Linked DNA regions of Homo sapiens: region 2 is linked to region 1. Evidence: promoter capture Hi-C in 16 types of primary human blood cells and fetal thymus (Javierre and others, 2016). All regions are on one chromosome and are shown on one strand. The core of a region is centred on a gene start or on the middle of the fragment in contact, and the rest is flanking DNA. Distances in the headings are between cores, read along the strand shown. Region 1 holds the start of PIGN (phosphatidylinositol glycan anchor biosynthesis class N). Region 2 has its middle 240 kb from the start of BCL2.

What was found. The method cuts DNA at HindIII sites, captures the fragments that hold promoters and counts their contacts. A CHiCAGO score of 5 or more calls a contact.
Region 2: a contact is called between a fragment that was not itself captured here and the fragment with the promoter of PIGN in region 1, in 1 of 17 cell types (fetal thymus). The highest score is 5.3, in fetal thymus.

The regions. Positions count from the first base shown.
Region 1 is chr18:62,181,840-62,188,548 of GRCh38, reverse strand. PIGN (phosphatidylinositol glycan anchor biosynthesis class N) reads left to right here and starts at 1,493. Exons shown (of 31, transcript NM_176787.5): 1 at 1,493-1,705. It overlaps RELCH (RAB11 binding and LisH domain, coiled-coil and HEAT repeat containing), which reads right to left and starts at 1,294. Exons shown (of 29, transcript NM_001346231.2): 1 at 518-1,294. The coding sequence starts at 1,043. RefSeq lists silencers at 609-828, 1,779-1,991 and an enhancer at 979-1,188. The HindIII fragment of the contact is 4,021 bases long and covers 1-3,519 here.
Region 2 is chr18:63,073,873-63,080,581 of GRCh38, reverse strand. No RefSeq gene overlaps it. Among named protein-coding and RNA genes, the nearest start is that of BCL2, 240 kb to the left of the region's middle. The HindIII fragment of the contact is 1,896 bases long and covers 3,267-5,162 here.

The DNA of each region.
Region 1 (6,709 bases), core at 244-2,743:
AAAACCCAATTTTGGCGGTGAAAAAGTCGTCCCAAAGACAAAGGGTCTTAAGTACATCTGACTTTTCGGAGACAGCAGCAGTGTGTCCTATTCTTTCTCTCCTGGCTCAGACTCAAAGAACTACTGCAGGCAATTCAGGTAACACTATTTCCTGGTAGTGTGATTCAGGTAACTGGAGAAAAAGGAAAATGCTTAAAGCAATAAACTAGTATAAAAGGGAACCTTCTGGAGTCCCGTAATAGCCAGTGAACTAGAAACTCTTGATATTTTATAGATACTGACACCAGTAGGGGAGCCAGGAGCCAAGTGCAACACCAGCCAAGGGTTGGAAGCAGGCAGAGAGAACAGTCATTGCCTGATCCTCTTGCTTCCACCGCAAAAGAGCGCCCCCACCCCAATACTCTCGTTCCTTAAAATGTCCCTATCGGGACCCACGCAGAAATACCCCCTCTCCCCTACAGTAACTCCGTACAATCCCAAATACCCTGCCGGAGTGTGACAGGCTGCGTCCACTTACTGAGCTGTCCCCCGCCCGACGCTGTACTCGGTTCCCGACCTCCAGCGCCCCCAACGCCGGCTGCTCCAGGGACCCCTGGCGCCCCCATCCCCGGCGGGGTTCCACTTTGCCTCTCGAAGTTGCCTGGATTGGAGAAGTAGTCGCGCAGCCGAGGCAGCTCCCGGCCACTCTCTAACAGCTCGGTATGCAGCTCCAGGGCGGTCAGCAAGTATTGATCGCGCAACAGCTGAGCAGCGATCGCATCAATTGATAATCGGGCCGGGGTCTCCCCGGTGCCCCCCAGGGCCACTGCAGCCGCCGACGCCTCCCCAGGGAGCCCTGGCCGCGCACTGCTTCCTAAGGCCACGGGATCCTGTGGCGACAGCGAGCCCGCAGAGCCAGGATCTAGGCCACTTCCGGCGCCCAGCCGAAGTACTGCCCGCCGTTCCTCTGTTGCAGCTACCTCGTCATCGTCCTCATCCGAATCACTGAGAAATGGATTCACGCCGCCACCACTGCCACTACCTCCAGGCGCCATCGCCGCCATCTTATCCTGTCAGGAGTGTGGGCGCCTCCCTGACTGGTTCCGACGGGCCGCAGCCCGAATCCTCTAGGCCTCAGGGGACACAGCGCACCTCCACAGCCCCGGCCTGACCACGTCCTGCCTCCCGACTTAGAGACAAGGAGTACGCTCCAAGGCAGGAGATCCGGATGCAGCTGCACCTGATGCCTCAGCCTCTGCTGCACCAGCAGCCCGGCTCTGCAGGCGTCTTCCTGGTCTCCAGTCTCGCGAGAACTGGAGCGTGCCCCTGCCCCTCTCCCCGATCTAGCCCCGCCCCAGCCCCGCCCCAGCCCACTTCAGCTCCGCCCATTCCCAGCGCCAGATAGCAAAGATTGAAGGCCCCGCTCTCCGCTCAAAAGCAAAACTCCACCCACGACTCCTCCATGATTGGTCAGAGAAGGAAGGCGTGGAGCGGACTGACGGGAGACTGGCCCGAGAATTATCGCGATAGCAGCAGCGGCCGGGCAGGTATTGGGGGCGTTCCGGAATTGAGGGGTGGTTGTAGTGGTGGCTTAGGAATACCCTCCCGGCTATCGCTTCAGTGGGTAGAGGGGACCACTGCCCGAGAGCTTTAATGGAGCTGGGTCCTGCCTTCGCGCTGAGGAGCCCTCGTTTTCGAGATCAGGCCTGACCGGGATAAGCTCCAGGTAAAGTTCAGGGACCAGTGCGCGGAGGGTGTCGGCGCCCAAACTGTGGTGTCGCGCCCGCGGACGCGCTGTTTCCCTACTGCGCTGCACTTTTTCTCGCTATTTGCTGCCAGTGGTGACATTTTGTCCCCATGGATAGCAAGTGCCCAGGCCTGTAGTCGGAATGTGACTTCCTTTCTTTTCCCTTCTCTGCCACATGCTTGCACACTCGGGAGGCCTAGCGACAGCACGACTTCTCAGCCCCGGAGGTGGTCCTGCCTGTGGGTGGGGACGGGGGCTGGAGAGACTAAACGGAAAAGGGAACGCTGAGGTTGGCATTTGCCTGGATCTGGGAACATCGTCGAGTTGGAAAACAAATTGTTAGGTACTCAATAAACGCTTAGGATTTAATACACGATTTACACAACAGGGACCCTTCAGAATATCTAATGCTGTCTCACCAGTAGACAGATAAGTAAACTTAAGCCAAGAGTGGTTGTTATAAAATCAGCTCCACGCCGGGCGCGGTGGCTCACGCCTGTAATCCCAGCACTTTGGGAGGCCGAGCCGGGCGGATCACGAGGTCGGGAGTTCGAGACCAGCCTGACCAACATGGTGAAACCCCTTCTCTACTAAAAACACAAAAATTAGTTGGGCGTGGTGGCGCAAGCCTGCAATCCCAGCTACTCAGGAGGCTGAGGCAGGAGAATCGCTTGAACCCCGGAGGCGAAGATTGCAGTGAGCCGAGGTCGCGCCACTGCACTCCAGCCTGGGCGACAGAACGAGACTCCGTCTCAAAAAAAAAAAAAAAAAAAAAAAAAAATCAATTCCGCTAATAAGGAGTCAAAGGAATTAACATCATTTCTCTTATGTCCCAAACGATTCTTTATCCACTGTCTCCTGCAACATTTCTGACTCGTTCATGCAGGCTAGAATCAAGGTTTTGGAACTTAGAACTATTTTAAAAGTTGAATGCTTCAGAGAGTTTTGATTTTTTTGATGAAATGTTAGCATATAAAGTACATATCCTAAGTTTAGAAGATCAACGTTTATCTTTTATGTCATTCCTTGATTATGATCTGAAAAGGTAAAGGAATTTCCAGTCAATACAATTAGACTGCTATTTCTTATGGCTCCTATTTTTTTCACACACAAATGACCACTTTTCCAGGCTTTAGATTTCCTTTCTTAGTGTACAGGTAAGTGACATATTACATTCAGTGTGTAGTAAACATTCCACAGTAAAGTATCTCCCGTTAGCTCCATGGAAAAATTAAAATAGACGATTCTTACATAACCTTAGGTCAGGTTATTGGTTTACATGTAAAAGTATGCCAACAGTTAAGAGTAGGCTTTAATTTCAATATACCCAGGCTCAATAAACTAAAATTTTCATTTGAATGGGGATTTGGGTTTTTAAAATTTTATTTTTGCTAGAAGTTTAAAAAAAAAGTACCAAGAATTTAAACTATTTTTTTATAGGACATTAGTTCCCAATGTTTTAATGATAAATAGTTTTCTGTGCCATATATTAAAAGTAAAACATGGGGAAAAAAATCCCCCCAAATAGAATTGAAATGGCAAATACTGTATCCTGTTAGAGATTTCTTAGCAAAAGGGATTGCTGATCCGTATTTTAGTTGGATTTTCCAGAGAGATTAAAATGGAACCAATTTCTGGAATCCAGGAATGGAGGATTAGTGAATGGCATGGGAAGGGCATGATTAGAAATGGATTGTTTATATACAATATTTCCATCTCCATGATTGGGAAATTGAGAAATCTCCTGCATTTAGGATTCCTGAAGAGGATTATGCTTATAAGATAGAAAAGCTTAAGTTCAGATCCCAATTCTACTCATTATTTATTGTGAGACCTTGAAAAAGTTACCTAACTTCTCAGCCTCACTTGCATTCGTCTATCAAAGGGGATAAGGAAAGTACACAGAATTGAGAATGTTCTTGTCCCAGTGCCTGGTACCTGCTACACAATAACTATTACTGTGGTCACTTATTAATTATTGAAATATTAGTATGTGTTGAGAACATTTGACAAGTGTTTAAAAATAAAACTAATATCAATCGTTTTGGCAGTGCAAGCCTGAAAAAGCAATTAAGTCAGTAGGGCTGAAGGGAGTATCTTTAATTTGGGGTCTCAGTTCTAAAACACAAGTTGAAAATAGATTTAAAATGTTTCCTCAGAGTTGTAAGAACTTGCATGTAGAGGAATTCTTCCCATACAAATCTGTGGTTTTCTGCTTCTATTTCTGCCTCCTATCCTATAACCATGAACTTGTGTGTTTGATCTTGTAAGCCCATTAGAAATCAACTGCCCAGTCTTCCCAGTATGTACTTTTCTTTTCCACAATACACAGAGGTTTGGTTATTCGTGAATAATGTATAAGTAACACACACTGGAATATTAAAAATTACCGATCACTACTTATAATAATGTATTATTAATAGTGTTGGGAAATTTCCTTTCTACTTAGTAAGATTTTCATTAATCTAGGCCCTTACAACTAATGTTTCATCTGACTAATGATAGTTATTAAAGCTTGTGCCTTAGCAATGAAGATGTAAAAGATGCCTTTTTTCAAAGCACGTCAATCATTTTAGTATTTAAAAAATTATTTTAGGTTTTAATAGTCTTAAAAGAACCACAAGTAATATTCTGAATGCAAGTTTTGGTTGACTTGAGGTTTTAGTAATACCTCATGTTTTATTGTTTTTCAGTGTGTGGTAAACATCCACAGATAAACTAGATAACTTGTATTGGTACATGCATATATCTTTTTAAAATTTTAATAGTTATGTGTTTGTTTTGGAGGTATTTCTTTTTCAATAAATCTGAATAAATTGTGATTTTCTTTAAAGAGAAGTATTAAGTAATATTTAGTATTAAGCAATTAAACTAATTAAAATAAGTAGTTAGTGAATGCTGATATTTTGTAATAACTGCAATTTTATTTACATTAATAGTAAATTACTTTATCATAAAAGGTTTAGTTTTTTTTTTTTTAAAGTATTTTCAGTCTTCACATCTTGTTCTGGAGGAACAAAAACAGAAGCAGGGCATCCTCTAGTGGCTGTAGTGCATATTGCATTTACCCTTGAAATGATAATTCTAAATAATTTATTCAGCAAACATTTGAGTCCTTACTAAGTGCATAAGACTCTGATGGGTGTTGGAGATGCCCCGTCCTGCTGTCATGGAATTGTGGTGAAGTGACAGAGACAGACATTAATTCAAATAGTCGTAGACAAAGCTATGTAATTACAAACTGAAGTAAAAGTTTTCGTTTCTGACTTCACCTGCATAGTCCCTGAGGAAGTGATGCTTGAAATGGAATGTTAGGAGAGAGTGGAAGATAGGTTGCAAGTACATTCTGCAGAGAGGAATTGAGCCTACAAAGGTCTTATAGCAGTGGGATACTTGAATAAAAGAAGGGGCCAGTGATGTGAGATGTTACAAAGTAAAGGGGAGTGCTATGAGACAGGTTTAGAAAAGAAGGCAGAGGCTAGTCTATAAAAGACCTTGTTAGTCACATTAAGGATTTTAGTCTAGATTAGTAGGTGAAAAGGCACTGGAGAGTTTTTTTTTTCCAGCTGTGACTTCATTTTTAAATTTATTTTTTAATATACGATTTTATGTATTCATTGTGTACATGATGTTCTTCAGTTTATATACATTGTGAAATGCTCAAATCTAGCTAAGTAACAAATGCATTACCTTACACATAGTTATCATTTTTGTGATGAGAAATTTGAACATCTACCCTTTTAGCAGTTTTCAAGAATACAATATATCATCATTAACTAGAGTCACCATGCTGTACAACAGAGCTCTTGAACTTATTCCTTCTATCTAACTCTAATATGAATGCTTTGATCAGTATCTCTACAATTGCCCCCCGCTGTGGAACTACCCCAGCCTCTGGTTACCACCATTCTGCTTCTAATTCAGTGGGGTCAACTTTCTTAAGTTCCACATAGGAGTGAAATCATGCAGTATTTGTGTTTCTGCACCTGGCTTATTTCACTTAGCATACCAGGCTTCAGGAACATCCGTGTTGTTGCAAACGTGTCTTTTGACTTTAAAGACAGTGAATGCTTCACAGAAGGCACTGGAGAGTTTTATACAAGGGGTAAGATGTTCAGATTTTCTTTTGAAAAAAGAAAAGCAAGTAATACTCTGGCTACATGGCAAGAAATGGATCAGAGAAGGGTTAGAGTATATAGGGGTGACCTATTCCTGCATTGCAGTAGTTCGCATAAGAGATGGTATACATCTTAAATTATAGAGGTGTCAATGGAGATTAAGACAAATGAACAGATTCAAGAAACACAAAGTGGACAATTGTTAGATTAAATAAAGGGGAAGAATAGGGTGTAAAGAACAATGCCTATTTCTCAGACTTACATACTTGGTGGGAAGGTGGTGCCACCTACTGAGATTGTGAACACTAAGGATTTAGTAGGTAGTAGACAAGGCTCATGGGAAATGTTATGAATTTGGTTTTAAACCTACTTAGTTGAGTGTCTTTGAAACGTCCATGTAGATTTATAAAGGTTCGAGTTACATATGTGGATTTGGAGCTATAATTTGTTGAGGCTTTTGCATATTAGGTAATAACTGAAGCCACAGATATGATGAAACTTGCCAGGATAGAAAGTATAGAGTGAGAAGAAAAGACAGCTGAGGACCAAGTTTTGAGTAACTCCAAAATTTAGTGATCAGATAGAGACTGTTCAACATTGGTCAGAGGTGTAGGTGAAAAATGAAAGCAGTAATGTTCATAGAAGCCAAGTGATAACAGCCTATTAAAAAGGAGAAGGCAGCCGGGCATGGTGGCTCATGCCTGTAATCCCACCACTTTGGGAGGATGAGGTAGGTGGATCACCTGAGGTCAGGAGTTTGAGACCAGCCTGGCCAACATGGTGAAACCCTGTCTCTACTAAAAATACAAAATTACCTGGGCATGATGCTGTGTGCCTGTAATCCCAGCTACTTGGGAGGCTGAGG
Region 2 (6,709 bases), core at 2,965-5,464, 890 kb before region 1:
GAATAGAATGGACAGTTGGCCAATCAGTCTTATTCCTGCTACCAGCTGCAGCAGAGCAGACTGATATCTTCAGCAGTATTTCTCTGCATGCTGCTTATGTGTAAGAATTTCCTCCCTTTTCTAGTATAAATAGAAGTTACAATTTTTTCAAATGAAAAATCTGACTTCTGAGTGGATCACGTACAGAAACCTTCCTCTTTTCTTCAAACATGGATAAATATATTCATTTATTCACTGATGAACAAATATTTATTATTTGATAAATATGGTTCACTGTGCTGAGGGAATGACAGGGAACAAAACAGGCAAAGTCCTTGCCCTCATAGACACTGCCTTCTGGAAGAGGGAGGGAGACAGAACACAGTAAGTTGATCATATATCAGGTAATGATAAGAGCTAAGCAGAACAATGAAAGAGATTGAGGAGACAGAGCTTTAAGAGAGGGTGGTCAGGCGGGGATGTGCACTCATTTGTCTGAGAAACAGCATGGAACCTGTAAGACTGAGTAGAGTGTGTAACAGGGAGGGTGGTAGGAAATGCGATTAGAGAAGTAGTGATGGCCTGTCTCATGCAGGGCCTGTGGCTGTAGTAAGAATTCCATAAAACTAGTAAAACCTGGATGCCAAAACCAAACAAGGGGAAGATAAGAAAGGAAAATCACAAGCCAATCTCAATCACAGACATTATCAAAGTCTTAACATAATATTAGCAAACGAAATCCAGAGATCTATTTTTAAAAAATCATTTAGGATTTATCCCTAGAATGCAAGGATGGTTCAGGATGAAAAGATAATCAAATGATATTTACCACTTTAAAAGATTAAGAAAGAAGATCATATGATTGTTTCAATAGTTACAGATAAAGCATTTGATAAATTCAACACTAACTCATGATTTAAAAAAAAAAAACAACATAGTAAACTAGGATTAGAAGTGAATAAACTTCCTTAACCTGAGAAAGTATGTACAAAAAACATCCTTACAGAAGAATTGTTGGAAGCATGCCCTATAAAATCAAGAACGGGACAAAGATGTTCACTCTCAGTACTTCCATTCAACATTTTCCTGGAGGCTAGTAAGACAAGAGAAGACATAAAGATTGATGCACTGAATGGATGTGTCTGTGTCTGTATCAGCTTGGCATCATCACCACTTCCTCCTACAGTCTTCTCTGAATTGTGTAAGGTAGAAGCCTGAAACTGCATTTCCCAGCATCCCCTTCTCTGTATTACTCTGTGTTAAAGTTTGCAGTCCCATGAAATCTGATTGGTAGGGGAAGAGTTGAGGCTATCAGTCTCCAAATAAGGATGTAACCAGGTGTTGGGGCAGACCTGATATGCCCAGTGAATACTTGAGAACCACCTGCTTCATTGCTGCATGCTTAGACAGCTGATGGACGCTTCTCAAAGATTCTTAGGATTGCAGCTGTTTCCTGTTAAGAACCACCAATTTGGTGCATTGCAGTAATCTAATTGTACATCCAGTTTGGCATACAATAAGGACAAAAAGAATAGAACAAAATTTTTAAATATTGGTTTTGTTCTTGTGAAACTATTATATGTATTTTGTAGAATGAAACAAATATGTAATTATGCTAATGTCATTAGAAACCAGATTTTCAATGTGAGAGAAAAAGAGATCCAAATACAAACCAAAGAATAAAACCCTGTGATCTTAAATTTAAAATGGAAATTTGAGTATCCTATGATGATTTTTCTCTTTAAAAATTAATTTTTTAGGAAACATAAATGAAAAAATACCTAGAAGTGAAGTCACCTGGAAATAGAATGATCAACCCAGTATCACGGAGTACCCTTAAATATCCATCAGGGAAATGCAAATCAAACCACAACGAAATATCATTTCACAGCCACTAAGATGATTATAGTAAAAAAGACAAATATAGCAAGCATTGGTGAGGATGTTGAAAAATTAGAACCCTCTTACACTGACATGGTACAGTCATTCGGAAACAGTCTTCAGTTCCTCAAAAGCTTAAACATAAAGTTACCAAATGACCTAGCAATTCTACTCCTCATATATACTCACGCCAAATGAATCACATGTCCACAAAAACTTGCACACAAATGTTCATAGCAGCATTATTTATAATAGCCCAAACTGGAAACTACCCAAGTATGCATCAACTGATAACTGAGTAAGTAAAGTTGATTGTGATGATAGGTTGTACAACTGTATTAGTCCGTTTTCACACTGCTGATAAAGACATACCTGAGATGGGGTAACTTATTTAAAAAAAGAGGTTTAATTGACTCAAAATTCAACATAGCTGGGGGGACCTCACAATCATGGCGGAAGGTAAGGAGGAGCAAAGCCATATCTTACATGGTGGCAGGCAAACAGAATGAAAGCCAAGCGAAAAGATGGTTATAAACCATCTGATCTCATGAAACTTATTCACTACCACAAGAACAGTATGGGGAAAACTGCCCCTATGATTCAGTTATCTCCTACTGGGTCCCTCCCACAATACGTGAGAATTATGGGAGCTACAATTCAAGATGAGATATGAGTAGGGACAGCCAAACCATATCAACAACTCTGTGAATATATTAGAAGCCATTGAGTTATACACTTTAAATGGATGAGTTGTATAGGGTGTGAAATATATCTCAATGAAGCTGTTAAAAATAATACAGTATTTTAAAACTGATTATTAATGAAAGCACAGAAAAATACCAAGACTTAGGGTACAGCAATAGTTAAGGGAAATATTTATAGCACTACAAATATTTTTAGAACCATAAGAAAGATGAAATAAATGAACTCATGTCAATTCAAGAAGATAGAAAAAGAACAACGAGTTTAGGCAAAAAAAATGTGATGGAAAGAAATATTAAAGATAAAAACAAAAAAATAAGAAAAGGAAACAAAAGTAAAATAGAAATGACAGAATGAGTCTTAGAAAAGAAAAATAATGCTAATAAAATAAATCCCCATTAAGGCTGATAAATAAAGAAAAATGAACAAATAAACATTAGGAATAGAAAATATAATGTAACCACATATGCAGCAGAAACAAAATCATAAGGGAATCTGTGGCACAATTTTATGTCTATTCTGAAATTGGCTGAATTTTAAAATAGAAAAACTGAATAAAACAATTAGCATTAAAGAAATTGATTTGACAATCAAATATACCTGCCCTCAAGCCACCTCCCCAAAAAGACACTAGTCTTAGCTGATTTCAGCAGTGAATTTCATCAAACCTTTAAGGAAAAGGTCATTGCTATCTTATATAAGCTTCCCAGACAACAGAAAAGGACAGTAGGCCACTGAGTTTAGATAGTGTAGAATTAACACCAAAATGAAACAAGGACAGTACAAGAGACAGAAACTATAGGTTATCTCACTTATAATGTAGATTAAAATTCCTGAATAAATATTAGCAAATGGAATCCAACCAGAGTATTTTTTTTTTAACGATCACAACTAATTTTGATGTTTCCCAGGAAGGTAAGAATGTCAGAAATATCCATCAGGAGAACTTTACAACATTTATAGATCAAAAAGAAATAAAATGACACATTTTATTCTATAAATTCAACACCTTCTCTTATCTAAAAGAAAAACTCTTAGGAAGCTAGAAATGGAAGAGAACTTCCTTAATTTGATGAAGGGTTTTTATCAAAAACCTAAAGCAATCATATCACATCTTTCTGGATTATCCCTATTAAAACCAAGAAAAGGCAAGCAGGGCAGCCATCACCACCCCAGTCAACTTTACACAGAAAATACTAGCGAATGCAGTAAGCAACAAATAAATAAAATGCATAAGGTTTGGAAAGGAAGTGAAAATTTATTATTTTTAGGCATAGAAAATGCATAGATGGGTGGCGCACGGAGACTTATGACTGTAATCCCAGCATTTTGAGAGGGCGAGGCAGGTGGATCACCTGAGGTCGGGAGTTTGAGACCAGCCTGACCAACATGGTGAAACCCCATCTCTACTAAAAATACAAAAAAATTAGCCAGGTGTGGTGGCACGTGTCTGTAACCCCAGCTACTCAGGAGGCTGAGGCAGGAGAATCACTTGAACTGGGAGGCAGAGGTTGCAGTGAGCCAAGATCGAACCATTGCACTCCAGCCTGAGCAACAAGAGCAAAACTCTGTCTCAAAAAAATAAATAAATAAAATAAAATAAGAAAGAAAGAACAAAGAAAATGCATAGATATCAACAGAAAATCTTTTAGAACTAAAAAAGGATTCAGCAAGGCTACTGATTACAAGATCAACATGCAAAATTCAATAACTTTTGAATGTGAACAATAACAAATGGGAAAAAATTGGAAAAAAAAAAAGCCAGCTCACAATAGCAGCAAAACTATAAAGGACCTAAAGAATATACATTACGTACCATTTTTAAGAGCTTTATGGGAAAAAATTATAGTTTTATTAAAGGATATAAAAGAAGATCTGAATAATGGGTAAGAGGTCTCAAAAGCATAAACATGTCAATTCTGCCCAAATTATCTATAAATTTAAGTAAATTCCAAATAAAATCTCAGCAGAACTTTTCTGTTCATTTGTAACGTGATTCTAAAATTCATATGGAAAAGTGAATTATCATTGCCAAGATAATTTCGAAAAATAAGAACAATGGGTGGGCAGGAGCAGTTGGCCTGCGGATTCTGAAACATTCTAGACAGTCACAGAAATTAAAATATAGTTGTCTGAGCAGAGGAAGAGGCAGCGGACAGAATAGAGAGCCTGGTGCAAATCCATGTTCATGCAGGATTCACATGTAGGGGCTACGTGGGATGTGGAATATGATAGCGGTGGCACTAGAGATCAGCAGGGAAAGATGAGCTTGTGCCATCATTGATGATGGAAGCATTGGCTTTTCATATAAAAGACTCCTACACTAATTATACAAAAATTAATTCCAGAAGAATTAAAGACCTCAGCACGAAAAATCGCAACTAAACACTACTGAGACGTGAGACCTCAACCACATCTTGAATGCAAAATTTCATCGAATGTGAATATCATAATTCTATGTATGGAAAATTTTTAAATAAGACAAAGCATAACTGTATGTTGTTCATGAAGATATTTTTTAGTTTAGTTTCTTTTATTTTTATTTTTTTATTTTTAAGTTTGAAGAATATCTTTATGGCCCAAAGTGAATCTGCCAAGCTTTTTAGGCCACCTTGCGTGCATTTTAGTTGTTTCCCCAAGGGAGAATCTGAATCGGTGCCTTCCCTGACTCTTTCCCAGCCAAAATGCGGGCACGTGACCAGGCCTGCCAATCAGACACGGGGGCCTCGGGCCGCGGGAGGGAGCTGGCTGGCTGCGCGTCTCCGGGAGCCGCTGTCATTTCAGTGGCGCATTCTGGGCAAAGGCGGTGTGGTCCCGGGGTGGGCAGCAGATTCCGGAAAGGGTCAGTTGGTTCTGGGAGTGTCCCTTTCATTGTCTCAGGCCTCTTTTCCCATCTGTCCCAAACGTTGTGTGAACTCCCTTCTGTCTCTCCTAAGTTCTTTTCTGCTTAAACTGGTCAGACCGGATTCTACTGCTTACAAATGACAACTGTAACTGACACGCAACCCTGCAGAACAGAAAACATCTTTATAACAAAACATACCCCATCAACGTTAGAGAGGAAAAAACAGGCCTCGAGAAGGTATTTGCAGGATCTATAACAAAGGAATTAATAAAGATATATACTGTATTTATCTTATCAGAGAATTTATCTTTAATGGAGAAAACTCGGATAAATAAAGAACAGAAGCACGCCCATAGGAAAGTGGAGGGAAGGAGAACAGGAAGTCCTCAGAAGCAGAAATCCAAAGGTCTTTATTATATATATTTGTTCTTATTTTTACAATTTACATAAGTAAAATTATGGCATTCATATTCCATACATTCCTTCACACAAGATAAGCGTACGTGAGACCTCAACCACATCTTCAGTGCAAAACTTCATGGAATGTGAATATCATAATTCTACTTATGTAAACATTTTAAATAAGAAAAAGTATAACTGTATGTTGTTTATGAAGTTTTTTTTTTTTTTTTTTTTTTTTTTTTTTTTTTTGAGACGGAGTCTCGCTCTGTCGCCCAGGCTGGAATGCAGTGGCGCGATCTCCGCTCACTGCAAGCTCCGCCTCCCGGGTTCACGCCATTCTCCTGCCTCAGCCTCCCGAGTAGCTGGGACTACAGGCGCCCGCCACCACGCCCGGCTAATTTTTTGTATTTTTAGTAGAGACGGGGTTTCACCATGTTAGCCAGGATGGTCTCGATCTCCTGACCTCGTGATCCGCCCACCTCGGCCTCCCAAAGTGCTGGGATTACAGGTGTGAGCCACCGCGCCCGGCCCCTGAAGATGTTTTTAAACTATTTTTTAAAGTTTGAAGCTGGAAGCACGCACTGCTAAATATGATAGTGCTGCCTTTCCAGCGTAGAGGGCTCAGCAGCCAAGCATCACAATCAAAAGGCTTCCGAGATTTAGTTGTATTTATTTCTGGGGGGGTGGAGAGATAAAGTATTTACAGTTATTAATGGTTTAATATGGATTCTTTCACTCCATTTCCTACACTTACAGAAGAATTACATGAGAGGAAATAATGGTATATTCTATGTGTAAAAATGACAGAGGGAAACTTCATCATAGAGTCCGGAAAAATAAGCTTTTGAAAAAACAAGTACATTTCTGTGGCTTTATTCTCAACTCAATTTTTAATTATGC